4 separate regions of the Homo sapiens genome follow, and regions 2, 3 and 4 are each linked to region 1. The links are contacts of gene promoters, found by promoter capture Hi-C in blood cells and fetal thymus (Javierre and others, 2016). All regions are on one chromosome and are shown on one strand. The core of a region is centred on a gene start or on the middle of the fragment in contact, and the rest is flanking DNA. Distances in the headings are between cores, read along the strand shown. Region 1 holds the start of TMED3 (transmembrane p24 trafficking protein 3). Region 2 holds the start of ST20-MTHFS (ST20-MTHFS readthrough). Region 3 overlaps ST20-MTHFS (ST20-MTHFS readthrough). Region 4 overlaps ST20-MTHFS (ST20-MTHFS readthrough).

Region 1 (3,446 bases), core at 682-3,181:
ACTTATGCAGGTGTTTTCTTGGAACTTAAATGTAAGACTTAACATTTAATCCGGAGGAATTTATTTTGATTTTTAGAGATGGGGTCTCCCTTTGTCATCCATGCTGGAGTGCAGTAGTGCAATCACAGTTCACTGTAGCCTCAGACACCTGGTGTCAAGCAATCCTCCCACCTCAGCATCCCAAGTAGCTGGGACTACAGACCCACACCACCATGCCTGGTTAATTTTTGTTTGTTTGTTTTTGTAGAAACGAGGTTTCACTATGTTGCCCAGGCTAGATTCGAACTCCTGGCTTCAAACAATCCTCCTGCCTCAGCCTCCCCAAATACTGGGATACAGGCATGAGCTATGGTGCCCAGCCCGAAATTTCTTTTTGTTAGTCTTAGCAGAGCACTCCACCTGTGCCAGGGCAATCGTGTTTTTTTTTTGTTTGTTTGTTTTGTTTTTTTGAGACGCAGTCTTGCTCTGTCGCCAGGTTGCAAACTCCACCTCCCAGGTTCAAGCAATACCCCTGCCTCCCTGCCTCAGCCTCCCGAGTAGCTGGGACTACAGGCACGCACCACCACCCCCAGCTAATTTTTGTATTTTTAGTCGAGAAGGGGTTTCACCACATTGGCCAGGATGATCTCGATCTCTTGACCTCGTGATCCACCCGCCTCAGCCTCCCAAAGTGCTGGGATTACAGGCGTGAGCCACCACTCCCGGCCAATTGTGGTTTTATATCTGTCATTTATTTCTCCACTTAGTTCATCTAGATCAGATGATTATTACTTCCATGTTTTCTATCAGTTCCTAAAAAAAAAAAAAACGTGAAATAGGACCGTGCCAGGGAAGGAAGCTTAAGGGACACTACTAAACACCTCTTCCATGCCTGTCACTGAGCCAGTCAATATTATTAACTATGTTATGCATGCATGTTATTTCCAAGCCTACAGATTGCTTTCACACATTAGCGTGTTCATCCATAGTGAATGTGGCCAGCGGAAATCTATATGGGCAGTAACATTCTTTCCTGAAGTCAAGATATACCACGTCTAGTAATGCTCTCCTGAATAAGTTATTTATTGAGTATCGACATCACAATCTACGTCTTTTCTCTTTGTTTATTGGATCACAGTGAATATAAAACTATACCTATAGTTACGATTATACAAAAGAATCTTAAGTCAGTGGTCATGGGTAAGACAGTAAACCAATTTATCTGCTTTCAGAGCTTTTAAGAAGTCAAAGTGCAAAAATGACAGTTTTGTGCAAAAAGAATTTTCAACGAGCCTGACAGCCAAAATATACCTGAAGTCGCTGCGAGACTTTACTTGGATTTTCATGAGATCGTTTGTGTGTGAGCACGCTCGTGTTTTTCCCAGAGCAGGTGTAATGATGGGTCTTTACTTACTCTCCCCACTCCCCACCCCCTTCGCACACTCTTTCACCTTGGGAAGGGTATGGGAATGAAGAAAGGAGTGTTAATCGGGTTCCCAGCGTTCCCTTATCTTTCACCTAGCTCCCTAACTACTGTGGATGTTAGGTTTGGGCACACCCATTTCAAGACAAGGAGACTGGTTCTCGAGGGAAGTGTGAGACTGAAGTTACAGAGCCTGTCAAAAGCGGAGCCTTATAGAGGGAGTAAAATCCCACGTGCTTCGTGCTGCAGCAGCTGGAGGGTGGACCTGGGTCGACCTGGGGGGATGCTCAGCCCTGCGGGTCCGGGAGCGCGCAGAACAGCGGGGAGGGCTTCTCCCTCTTCTGGGTAGGGGCGCGCTAGGTGGAGCCCCACCTCCCCTCCGCGGAGACCCACCCTCCGAGCCGGGAGAGGCGTTGCGGGGGGGTGGGGGGGGCGTGTCCCCTGGCGCAGCGCGGCCAGCGCGCACGCGCAGCGGGCGGAAGGTGCCCGGGCCCACTTTGAGCGCGCGGCTGCGCACTGAGCCGCCGGCCCTCCCGGAAGCGCAGAGCTCCGCTGGTGCCACGTCTATCCCCTTACATCCTCCTAGGACCCGGTCGGTAGTCGTCGCCCCAGCCCGCCGGGGGCGCAGCGCCCGAGCCGCGGCCCTCGAGACGGGACCGAGAGCATCATGGGCAGCACTGTCCCGCGCTCCGCCTCCGTGCTGCTTCTGCTGCTGCTCCTGCGCCGGGCCGAGCAGCCCTGCGGGGCCGAGCTCACCTTCGAGCTGCCGGACAACGCCAAGCAGTGCTTCCACGAGGAGGTGGAGCAGGGCGTGAAGTTCTCCCTGGATTACCAGGTGAGGCCGGGCGCCCGGCAGCGCTCCCTTCTCCCTCCACTCCCAGGTCTCACCTGGACACTGGCTAGCCCCTGACTGGAGGCGCTCGAATTAGCCACAGGCTACAGGGAGGCTGCATGGGGTGGGAGTCCCCGGAGACCAGTTGACTTCCCCGTGAGGAGGAAGGTTTGGGTCATCAGGGCCCACCCGAGACGAGCCTGGCCAGCGAGGAGGTAGTCAGCGCCGCAGGTGCGAGCCCGGGATGGGGACGCCAGGGCGGATCCCGCAGCCTGGGGAGCTGGCCAAAGAGATATCCGCAGGCCCCCGAGACACTAACCAACGGCAGTTCTGATCGGCTGGACACAGGCTCTCTAACCCCAGTCTCTTAGACCACCTTGTGCCTTCGAGTACTGAAAAATGGCAGCAAGAGGAAGTGGGCTCATAGTTTTAGTTTATTCCTCCCCTCTCCAGCGTTTAAAGTTGGAGTGAGGTGAGGGCAGCAGAAGTGAGAATGGGCACTTTGGAAAGGAGGGATCAGTGCAGCCATTGAGGCCTGGCGGTGTTTACAAGGAGCGGTGTGGCTGCAAGACTTGGCTCTTGCCATATGGCTTAGAAAAGCTCAGTTCCTGTATTCCTGTCTCCTTTGAGAGATCCCGTGGCCCACAGGTGACAGGAGCAGGTCTTGAGTGAGTAGTCTGCCCCGATATTTAGTGAGCAGGTCTAGGGTTGGGGGCCAAGTGGGCATCATACTCAGACAGCTATCTGCTTGTGGACGCATGCTGATAGGCACTTCAGAAATGAGGGGCCACGGGCAGCAGGAATGGGGGCAAGCTATTTGACCAGTTCCTCTGTGGTTAGAGGCACTGAAGGAAGCTTGCGCTTGGAGACAACTTCTATGTGGTAGTCTCAGTCACTGATTTGTCCACTTTCAGGTCTTTGTGGACAACATGCAAATTGTGACTGGGTTAACATGGGCAACCTAGGTGCAATGACAAAAAGAATGATAATTCTGTGGTTGCAGGGACCTCAGATGTCATCTGGTCACTGCCAGGGCGGAAATCCCTTGTCAAAGTGTGTCCAGCCTGGGTTTAAACACACTTAGCAACAGGATACTCACTGCTTTTTGCAAAGCTTGCTGAGCAGGACTAGTAACTTTTGTCCGGACAAAGAGGCCATTTAAATTTGGAAGCAGATGGAGGCCATTGACCGTGTCCTTTGATGGATCTTGGT
Region 2 (3,446 bases), core at 742-3,241, 610 kb after region 1:
GACCAGCCTGGCCAGTATGGTGAAACTCCATCTCTACTAAAAACACAAAAATTAGCTGGGCATGGGGGTGGGCACCTGCAGTCCCAGCTACTTGGGAGGCTGGGGCAGAAGAATTGCTTGAACCTGGGAGGCGGAGGTTGCAGTGAGCTGAGATCATGCCACTGCACTCCAGCCAGGGCAACAGAGCGAGACTCCGTCTCAAAAAAAAAAAAAAATAGTAAATAAAAAATAAAGGTTTGTCACCATATACTCAAGAGTACTTCTGTTATTCAAATCTCCTAACTGGGAGTTACAAATATCTCTGACTCTGCTCTTGTAGCTGTCAGAGCATAAAATGCCCTTCCCACTCTTTCCTCACTTCCAGACTCCAAAGCCTCCTCCTCAAAGTTTGGCCCCTCTACTTTGGACTACTGTTTTCTTCCCAGTTACTGCGCACTGACAGTACTTTTGTTCTCTCTTTCGGCAATTCACCATACACTTTCTAGTTTATTTATCTGCATAAAACTTAGTTCTCAACAAGACTATAACTGCCTTATGAACAGGAATCAACAGTTGAGAATCTTCAGAGTCTCCTATAACATCATGTAAGAGCTCACTAAATGTTTGATTTAAATAACTAGGCTTAAGAGTAATAGGCTGGGCATGGTGGCTCATGCCTGTAATCCCAGCTCTTTGGAAGGCCGAGGCGGGAGGATCACGAGGTCAGATCGAGGCCATCCTGGCTAACACGGTGAAACCCGTCTCTTCTAAAAATACGAAAACAAAAAATTAGCAGGGAGTGGTGGCCAGTGCCTGTAGTCCCAACTACTCGGGAGGCTGAGGCAGGAGAACGGTGTGAACCCAGGAGGCGGAGCTTGCAGTAAGCCAAGATCTCAACAGTGCTAAATGCATACATGGATTATCTTACTAAATTTTCATAACTCTATAGAGGTAAGTGCTATCATTATTTTCTCCATCATAGAGGAAGAAAGTGAAGCTCAGAATAACTTGCTCAAGGTCATACAGGCCTGGGCAAACCCAGGGCCTGAATCCAGCAAAGCTCTTAACTACCTCAGAACACTGCACAGTTCGAGCCCTGCAATACTACAGTCTATGAATGATTTCGATTTCACTAAGTTAGAAATTTGAATTTCAACAGAGACATTTTAGCTAAAAGGTAAAATTTTAAAGAGGATGAATTAAGAGAATTTCCCACAGACATCTTTATAATAAAATGAGGAGAAAAGCCTCCCATTTCCTATTTATGAAAGTGATATTAAGGTGTGTGTCACAATTTCATCAAGAAGTGGCTTATGACAATACAGCTTTGGTTTAGGTATTAAAATAGGACTCTTTTCTGCCCATAGGAGGACATGGAAATGAAGGATAGATGTGATAAATGTCAATTCAGAGCTCTGCAAAATGCCAGACTCAATTCTTGTTTTAAAATATCAGAGCCAGGGCTCTTGTTTCACCCTTGATTCTTCACACAAAACACCACCATCCTCTGACCTCTTCACACAGAGCAAGCTTTACCCCACTACCTAAAGGGGAGTGCTGATCCACATGGTCTCCCCATCCACGCTAGAAATTGATCCCAAACACCAACCGCTGCATAGACGTCGGCGACTTTGGTCTGCACCCCCCGAACTTGGTGATACCTCATCAAGCCAAACCCCTCCCCAACATCCAAAATGCCCAGACCAGCATCCGAAAGCTGGTCTCCTATACAAAGCAGAATCCCTGCCTACAAAGCAGTTTCCCACCTCCGACTCCTCCCCACGGCGAACAGCCCTTCTGGATCCAACCAACCCACCAACCCCAATAGGGCCCAGCACCCAGAGGGTCCACAATCCAGAGAAGGAGCTACAAGCCCTGTACTTGCAAGCCTCGAACCCCCAACTCCAACTGACCTCCCCTCTGCCAGAGCAAGACCACGAGTACCCGCCGAGAGCGGACCTGGCTGGCTACACAAAGCCAGGCGCCCGACCAGAGGGATCCTCCGGGACGTCCTCCGCCACCGGGGCGTCCCCGCCCAGCCCCGCCCGGCGCCCGGCGCTCACCAGCTCTCCTCCCCCTCCTCCTAGCCTGACAGACGCTCCAGGTCGTCTAGCAAGCCGCCCTCCCCCGCCGCCAGCAAGAAGGTGGCGTCTCGCAGCTCCTCGTTATTCGTCCGCCTCGGGTCCATCCGGCCCCGCCGCCCGACTTTGCGCTGAGACCCAAGGGGAAGCCCCGAGGGGACCCCGCGCCGTAGGAGGGAGTGGAGGAGCCGGCGAACCGCGATGGAGCCGGGGCCCAGCACAGCGCGAGCGGCTCCTCGGCTGTTCGTGCTGCTTCCCCAGCTTCTTCACCGGCACCTGCAGCTTCCGCACCTCCTGGTCCGCGTTCACGTTAGAGTTAACGTCCTCCATCCCGGCCCCGCTGCCTCCGCCGCCCGCGGCCCTCTCGCTCTCGCAGCAACAAGGGAAGAGCCGGAGGAAAGAGGCGTCCACGCCGCTCACTCCAGCCGAGGCCCCCGCATATAGCAGGGCCAGGCCCCGTCGCCAGGGTTCCCCCAGCGCGGGTCCCGAAGCACCGCTGGCCACAGATGAACCGCCTCCTCAGCGCAGGTCCGGGATTCGGGGAGGCAGCGCCAATATCCGGTCTCTGCAGCCATCTTCCCTCCGTCCCTCCGCCCACCGAGGGTCGGCCCTGTAGGTGACCTCAGAGCGTCGGGGATGGGCGTGGCCCCGTCGGGCGCTAAGAAGACCTAGCGCAGAGAGGACCGCCGAGCTCCCGACGGGGCGGGGCCAGGTGTGTGAGGGGCGGGGATTGGACCCGGAGGGGCGTGTCTGGACTGCCGGCGGAAGTGGAACGCGGCCTGACCTGCGACGGAAAGCCACTGCAAGCCCGGAGGCGAACAGAAGGCATTCCGCGAGCCGGGCTGAGTTGGTGAACACGGTCCTCGTTCACCCCGCCTATTGGTCTGGGCGTGTGGGGTATTCTCCACCCACTTATACGGCGTGTGGGACCGACGGGCCCGTCCTGCCCGGCTCCGGTCCGGATCTCGAGTAGGCGCTCAATGGGATTCGGGGAGACGTAGTTTACTTTGTTCAGCAAATATTTAACCGATGCCTATTTTAATGGGAGATTGTTTCCGCTGGCGGGAGCCTCAGAGACCGCCTGTGTCCTTTAAGAAACCCGAATTTCAGACAGTTAAGAGAGGTCTAAGGTCAAAATAATAATCATAATTTCTTCTTACTGGCCAGATACTATGCTAAGCCCTTTTTAATTTTATTATTATTATATTTTGTCACCGAGGCTGGAGTGCAATGGCCCGATCTTGGCTCTGCAACCTCCGCCTCCCGGTTTAAAGCGATTCTCCTGCCTCAGCCTCCCGAGTAACTGGGATTACAGGCGGGCGCCACCACGCCTCGCTGATTTTTGTATTTTAGTAGAGACGGGGTTTCGCCATTTTGGCCAGGCTG
Region 3 (3,446 bases), core at 947-3,446, 590 kb after region 1:
GAGTGTCCTTTCTGGTCAACAGTATTGCTTCAGGACAGAAGAGCATTTCACAGATCTTTCCTGTAACTTCTAGAAAAGTCATCCAGCCAGATTTAGGCTCAAGCTTCTTTACAAAGCCATTTTCCTATGAGAGAATAAATTTAACATTTTAAAAATCATTGGAGATTAAGTATGCTGGAATAAAAAGCAAAAATATTTTCATTTAAATAATGCAAATAATCTTCTATCCCTCTAAAGGAGCATTGTGTAACAGAAACACAGTGTGGCCTACATCTGTAATTTTAATTTTTGGTAGCCACATTTTAAAAAGTACAAAAATAGGAAAAATTAATTTTTAAGATATATTTAGTGATAATGATTTCTGTATGTAATCAATGTCAAATCACTAATGAGATAGTTTTTTTCATAACAAACCTTCAAAATCTCATGAGTATTTAGTACTTACAGCGTATCTTAATTCAGACTAGCCACATTTTACTACCATAGTGAACAGCAAGCACAGCTCTAGAGGATAAAAAGTCTTTTTGTTCTTGTTCTTGTTTAATTGTCCAACATTGATTTCAATGCACTTATATTTGTAATATGAATTCTATTATACTGTAAACTGCATTGTATTGAAACTCATGAGAACTCACAGTAAATCCAAATTAAACCAATACCTTTGAAGCTATGAAAAGGTTGATGGTTTCTTTTATAATCTACTCTCTTTGTGATCGGACATAGTTTTAAAAATGTAGGATAACCCAATTAACTGGACATTTTATTTAATTTACAATCTATAATCATAGAATCCTCACTGAAAAGTCCCTCTGAGATCATCTAGCCTAATGCTCTCTCTTAACAAATGAGGAAAGTGAGGCCCACAAAAAAAATCAGTTATCTAAGATTAGCCAAACCCTTGGTGCCTGGACCTGGATTAGAATGCAAATACCCTACTTCTTTCCACTCCATACATTTCCAAACAAGTGCCAAAATATTCGAAAATTGTTAAAATAATTTTTTCGAATGTTCATCTAGCAAACATTTGTGGCTGCATCTTACAGGTTCCAGAACCTGGGGTTACAAATGCCTGCAAGTAGCTCAGAGCAAAGTGTAACTAATATTGAAACGTAAACCAAGCATAACCCTTTGATAGTTGGGAGAGATTCGAGAGCTCTGCGGTGCCTTGGAATCATTTTATGAACATCACTGGCAAAGCAGATGAATACCACCAGCCAGGGGGATTTCATTTGAAAGACTTAGAAAGCCATTTTCTGCCTACGTAAGTGTGCGTCGTGCTCTGAGACATGCTGTCATGCCTTGACAGAGGAAGGAAACTGCCCCTCTTCTTCCTCTTTCCCTTCTGCCAGTACATACTCATAGATTACACTCTAGGGAGGTATCCACTTCATTACGCCCCTTCCTAAACACCATATTTCGCAAGTATGATGAGACCCTCTGAAATGACTTTTATTATAACGATAATCATTGTCTATTATCATTGATCAGTTAACATGTCATATACATCAACGTCTAAAGAAAGGACAGTGAACAAAGAAAATATTGATAAATTCAGCCAGATGAAGATTAAAAATTTTTTTAACTATGAAAAACTAAAAAGAACAATAAACTAGGAAAATATTTACATATACCATGAAAGTGTTCATTCAAATGTGAGAGAAAATTCTCAGGCCCTTAATAGTTTAAAAAGGAGAGACCATTAAACAGAGAAATATAAATCATTCACAAGTATATGAGAAAAACATTAATAGCAGTTAAAGAAATGTACATTTTAACAAAGTCTTATTTTTTTTAGACCTATTAAAGTGGCTTTATTTGATGCCTATTAAACCCTCAAAATTATTAATAGTACCACCCACACTGATAAGGTTGCTATGATATTGTTCTATTGATATAATACTTTCGAAAAGAAAATATGTTTTCCAGTATGCTAGAATATCGTAATTATACACACATCTTATGAACCAGTTACTCCACTGTTAGAAATTTATCATGAGGCAGTCTTCTAAAATATTGGAAGGTAGGGGGCACCAGAAAAGCATACCTATGCTTCACTACTGAACCATTATATCTAAAAGGGGAAAACCAGGCTGGGCGAAGTGGCTCAGAACTATAAACCCAGCACTTTGGGAGGCTGAGGTGGGGAGATCACTTGAGGTCAGGAGTTCGAGACCAGCCTGGCCAATGTGGTGAAACTCTGTCTCTACTAAAAATTCAAAAATTAGCTGGGTGTGGTGGTACATGCCTGTAATCCCAGCTACTGAGGAGGCTGAGGCAGGAGAATTGCTTGAACCTGGGAGGTGAAGGTTGCAGTGAGCCAAGATCAAGCCACTGCACTACAGCCTGGATGACAGAGTGAGACTCTGTCTCAAAAAATAAATAAATAAATAAAAGGGGGAAAATCAAAACCAAATTGTCTAACAATTGGGAATTGGTTAAGTAAATTATGATATGGCAAATTAATGAACTATTCTGTAGACATTAGAAATTAATGCCTAATGTTAACATGGAGTATGTGAGACAGTGTTGAAAATATTTGTATGTCACACCAAAAAACTCTTATGTACACCCTAATTATAATTGCATACAATGTCTGCATGTGGATATGTTAGGGTGATGGGAGTGACTTTTCTTCCTTTCAAAAATGTTATTTTCAAATATATTTTCTTTAATGATGCTATTTGTATCTTAAGACCATTATATAAAAATAAATATACAAATAAGGATTCAATATCCTATCAGTAATGCAGTAGTAAATAAGAATTGTTCAGGCCTTATTATTTCTGGGAACAGTGATAGTTTGTTAAATTCAGCTACCTTGGTTTCAACAAAACCTAAAGCATAAAATAATATACAGTATCAGTAATCTAAAGAAAATCAGAACCTCAGAATTTTTAAAGATACAGGCAGCCAGGCACAGTGGCTCATGCCTGTAATCCTAGCACTTTGGGAGGCTGGGTTGGTAGAATTGTTTGAGCCTGGTAAGTCAAGGCTGCAGTGGGCCATGATCACACCACTGTACTCCAGCCTGGGTGGCAGTGCAAGACTTTGTATGGGGAAAAAAAAAAAAGATACAGGCAAGTATCATGCTTTCTCACTTCTCTAAAGACTATTCCTTTGTTCACTCAGGAAATATTCACTGAGCATTGGCCACATGCCAGTATCAGTTAAAGTACTGGAAACACAGTGGTGAACAAAGCATACAGGATCCGTGTCCTCACTAAGCTCACATTCTCATGGCAGACACAGACAATAAACAGATAAGCAAATAAATATGCAATGGGATGTCCAGTCATGAAAACTATTATGAAGGCAATAAAGTTGGGCAGGGAGACAGAGAGTGATAGTGGTACTTTCTTAGATGGGTTGATCAAGGAAGACTTCTCTGAGGAGAAGAATTCCTTGGAAGGGATACCTGGGCGAAAAGAAGAGGGAAGGCAGGCGAA
Region 4 (3,446 bases), core at 297-2,796, 550 kb after region 1:
AACCTCATGGCAAACCACTATTCAAAGTTAAAGACTTAATTACAACTTCCCTTCTGAAGCCTTCTCATGCACTTTAGGCAAAGAGAAATCTCCATCTTGTGTTCCCAGAGCACTCTGGGCACATCCCAATGGGATCCTTAGCACCAGGACTGAAATCACTAGTTCATGTGGAATAGTCATCGTCGTCATCATCATCATCAAGCACTTATATGCACTGGCATTGTACTAAAAGCTTTATGTAAATTTCCTATTTAATCTTCAAAACAATCTAGTGAAGCAGATATTATTACCCTCATTTTCAAATGATCAGAGGCTTAGGTGAAGGGGTTTACTCATGTCCACTCAGCTAGTATGCAGCAGTCAGTAACTAGACTCAACTCCACCTAAGACCAAAACCTTGATCCTAACCACTCCTTATCCATCGTCCCCCTCCATACACCTGTCTTCCCCAACAAAATGTGAACTCCTATGGCCAGACACCACTGCCCCTTATTTATCTTTTTGTTTCCAGGGCATCACATGGAGGCTACCACACAACTGGTAGTCATTAATGCACGTTCATTTGTTATTTCGGCCATTCACTCACTCAGGGAGAGGTCAACATACTCTCATGTGTTGGTGATGAGTACGTAAAGTGGCATAACCTTTTTTAGTAAGCAATACAGAAACACCTATAAAAATTTAGAATTCATAGCCATTTCATGGATAGATGTTGATCCCATGGACTTACTTGCATAACTATGCAGAAAAATATCTATCAGGATGTTCTTTTTTATTTTTATTTGTAATACCTAAAAAACAGAAGCAACCCAAATAGCTATCAACAGAAGACTGGTTAAATAACTTAGAGCACATCAATGCTATGTAACCACTTAAAACACTATGCTAAATCTATATGTGTTGCTATGAAAAGAGTTCTATGGTTTATCAACAAGTGAAAAAGTAGGATGCAAAACAAAATGTGAACTCCGATCCTATCTGTATAAATTTTTTAAAAGGATACAAATATATATATCTAGAAGGATACACAAGTATGTTAACAGTGGTCACATCTGGGGAACAGGCTGGGAAGAAGAGGGGTGGGACTTTTTCTTTCATACCCTTCTAAACCATTTAAATTATTTACCATGTGATTAGTTAGATGGCATGTAATTACTTTTATGAATGAATGAATTGTTGCTCTACTGTTTGGCTTTTTTTTTTCCTTTTTGTTGTTTCTAACACCAACATAGACTAAGATGAAGTACAGTTAACTTGGGTTGGCCAAGACGGCTAACTGAATCAATCCTCTCATATCCCTGTTTTTCATTCAAAGACTATGTCCTTATCTCAAATATTTGGCAGCTTGCACATAAATATGCCTCCTTCCCACCCCCAAAAAACTAACTAACACACCCTATAAGTAACATCAACCTTTCCCTCAAATTTTATTTGTTAAACCTTCAAAGGGTACATGAGAGAGGCAAGTCTTACCTGGGGTCAGCCAATTAAATCTGCTTTTTATCTACGGTTTATCACTAACTGAACATACAGCTCAAAGTACAAAGTTAATTACTACTTTTGCAAGGAGAAACTGAAAATGCTGATGGGTGAGCAGCAGGACAATTCTTGTATTTCTAATGTCTTACTCTCATTGATCATATCAGCCCTCACAGAAGACTATCTTGCCTAAAGTTACCATTCCTCATTCCAGCATCCCTTTATCATTTTATCCTGTCCTTTCTACAGCAAAAAGAGGTATTAAAAAAACTATCTTTACCTGCAGTCTCTTAATTCTAGCAAATTAATATCCATTTCTATATATATGAAGATTCTGCTGTTTTCTCCTTTTAGCTAACCCCTTCCAAATTTATATTTATAGTTTCTCTCTACTTTTATAAATTATACTAGGCTACAAAATAGTTTCAAAAACATTTCACCTAGAAAACCTCATCTAGAAAGGCAAATTGATCTTGGTCCATCTACATTTGCCATGGCCTCATCACCTAGCCACTAAGATCCCTGTTTGTAATATCAGGGCACACCCCAAGACCATACTCTGGCAAGTCCTGAATCAATATCTCCTATGTCCTGACCTCCAGAGCTATATATCCAACTAGCCATCTACCAGCATTTCTGGGAGGTCCTGGAGCCACCTCAAACGGGATTCACTATGTGTCCCCCAACCCCCTACATCTCCTCTCTCTTCTGCATTCTTTGCCTAGGTTAAGAGCATGACATGCAGATGGCAAAGCCAGACTGTCCCTCAACAGCCTCAAGTGGCCTGGAGACTCTACATGCTGCATATGTCAGAACTTGTTCTATCCTCTCCATTTCTAAAAGTGGTCATCATTTCTCATCCATTCGAATCCATCAGATTCCCAAGGGATGGTCCACTCCCAGTTTCTTTGGCTGTCCCTTGGGACAGCCTGTCCTCCTTATTTCTGGCAGAACAACCTTTCCCAAACATAGAACTAGTCATGTTACTCCTATGATTAAAGTCTTTCAATAACTAACTCCCAGCACCTACAAAATAAAGTTCAAATCCCAGATGTGTGACATACAATACCCTTCACAACGTGGGCCTCCAGCCTCAGCTCAGGCCATGACACCAACTGAAATCACAACCTGCCTTGAGCTGAATGCAGCAGAGGCTGCTGGTTGCCCATCTGGACATCATTCTCTCTTTCTCCTTAGTAGCAGAAAACTTTACTCAGGAGGCCATGAATCCCACCGCAACACCACATTTCTCACCTTCCCTGGTAGTTATGTATGACCTTGTGCCTAAGTTCTGACAAATGGGACTTTCAAGGTGAAGGATGCTCTTTTTCTCCCAACACCCTCTCTTTCCTCCTGCTGACTACAATTCAGAGTTGATAGCCGAAGCTTGAGATACCAGGCAGGACCATATGGCATATGCGGCAGGATCTGTCCCTAATGACTGTGGGGCCTGTACAACAGCCACAGACTATAAATACAACTCCCAGACTTCTTTTCCAAGCATCTCACTGATATTTTGAAGTTTTCACTGATACTTTGGAGTTTTCTGCTACATGCAGCCGAATCTGATTCTAACTGATAACCTGAGCATGCCCTCCTTTTACTCGCCTCCACAGCACATGACGGCAGTAAGGAAAGGCACCGTGTGCCATCCCACAAACAGCATGCCTTCGGGGAAAGCAGACCTGGCAGGAAGACCTGGCTCTGCCTTTTGACTGTGGCATGCCCATAAATAATGCTCTGAGACTTACTTTCTGCAACTGTGAAAATGAGATAATAACATAGTCATGATGAGTAATAAGCTTACATATGTAAGAGCACTTAGCATAAGGCTTAGCACTTAGTAGACAAAGGGTAGCTACTAATAATTTACCCATGTCACTGTCTCTGTACAAAAAGTCCTTGGGGCCAGGTACGGTGGCTCACACCTGTAATCCCAGCACTCTGGGAGGCTGAGGTGGGCGAAA

The links. Contacts are between HindIII fragments. The CHiCAGO score rates a contact against its expected background, and 5 or more counts as called.
Region 2: a contact is called between the fragment with the promoter of ST20-MTHFS here and the fragment with the promoter of TMED3 in region 1, in 12 of 17 cell types (fetal thymus, non-activated CD4 T cells, naive CD8 T cells and 9 more). The highest score is 17.6, in fetal thymus.
Region 3: a contact is called between a fragment that was not itself captured here and the fragment with the promoter of TMED3 in region 1, in 1 of 17 cell types (naive CD8 T cells). The highest score is 5.4, in naive CD8 T cells.
Region 4: a contact is called between a fragment that was not itself captured here and the fragment with the promoter of TMED3 in region 1, in 1 of 17 cell types (megakaryocytes). The highest score is 7.9, in megakaryocytes.

Annotation. Positions count from the first base shown.
Region 1 is chr15:79,309,181-79,312,626 of GRCh38, forward strand. It overlaps TMED3 (transmembrane p24 trafficking protein 3), which reads left to right and starts at 1,932. Exons shown (of 3, transcript NM_007364.4): 1 at 1,932-2,237. The coding sequence starts at 2,070. RefSeq lists silencers at 1,776-1,825, 2,036-2,105. The HindIII fragment of the contact is 2,251 bases long and covers 837-3,087 here.
Region 2 is chr15:79,921,101-79,924,546 of GRCh38, forward strand. It overlaps ST20-MTHFS (ST20-MTHFS readthrough), which reads right to left and starts at 1,992. Exons shown (of 4, transcript NM_001199760.2): 1 at 1,939-1,992. ST20 (suppressor of tumorigenicity 20) reads right to left here and starts at 2,652. Exons shown (of 3, transcript NR_037653.2): 1 at 2,352-2,652. ST20-AS1 (ST20 antisense RNA 1) reads left to right here and starts at 1,671. Exons shown (of 1, transcript NR_028330.1): 1 at 1,671-3,446. RefSeq lists silencers at 1,810-1,919, 1,940-2,009, 2,020-2,069, 2,690-2,839 and enhancers at 2,370-2,549, 2,980-3,029, 3,231-3,446. The HindIII fragment of the contact is 4,343 bases long and covers 1,508-3,446 here.
Region 3 is chr15:79,899,002-79,902,447 of GRCh38, forward strand. The region is part of intron 2 of ST20-MTHFS (ST20-MTHFS readthrough); the gene reads right to left. ST20 (suppressor of tumorigenicity 20) reads right to left here. Exons shown (of 3, transcript NR_037653.2): 3 at 1-124. Among named protein-coding and RNA genes, the nearest start is that of MTHFS, 3.7 kb to the left of the region's middle. RefSeq lists a silencer at 3,207-3,256. The HindIII fragment of the contact is 4,190 bases long and covers 102-3,446 here.
Region 4 is chr15:79,860,878-79,864,323 of GRCh38, forward strand. The region is part of intron 3 of ST20-MTHFS (ST20-MTHFS readthrough); the gene reads right to left. All of the region lies in intron 2 of MTHFS (methenyltetrahydrofolate synthetase), which reads right to left. Among named protein-coding and RNA genes, the nearest start is that of MTHFS, 34 kb to the right of the region's middle. The HindIII fragment of the contact is 2,633 bases long and covers 231-2,863 here.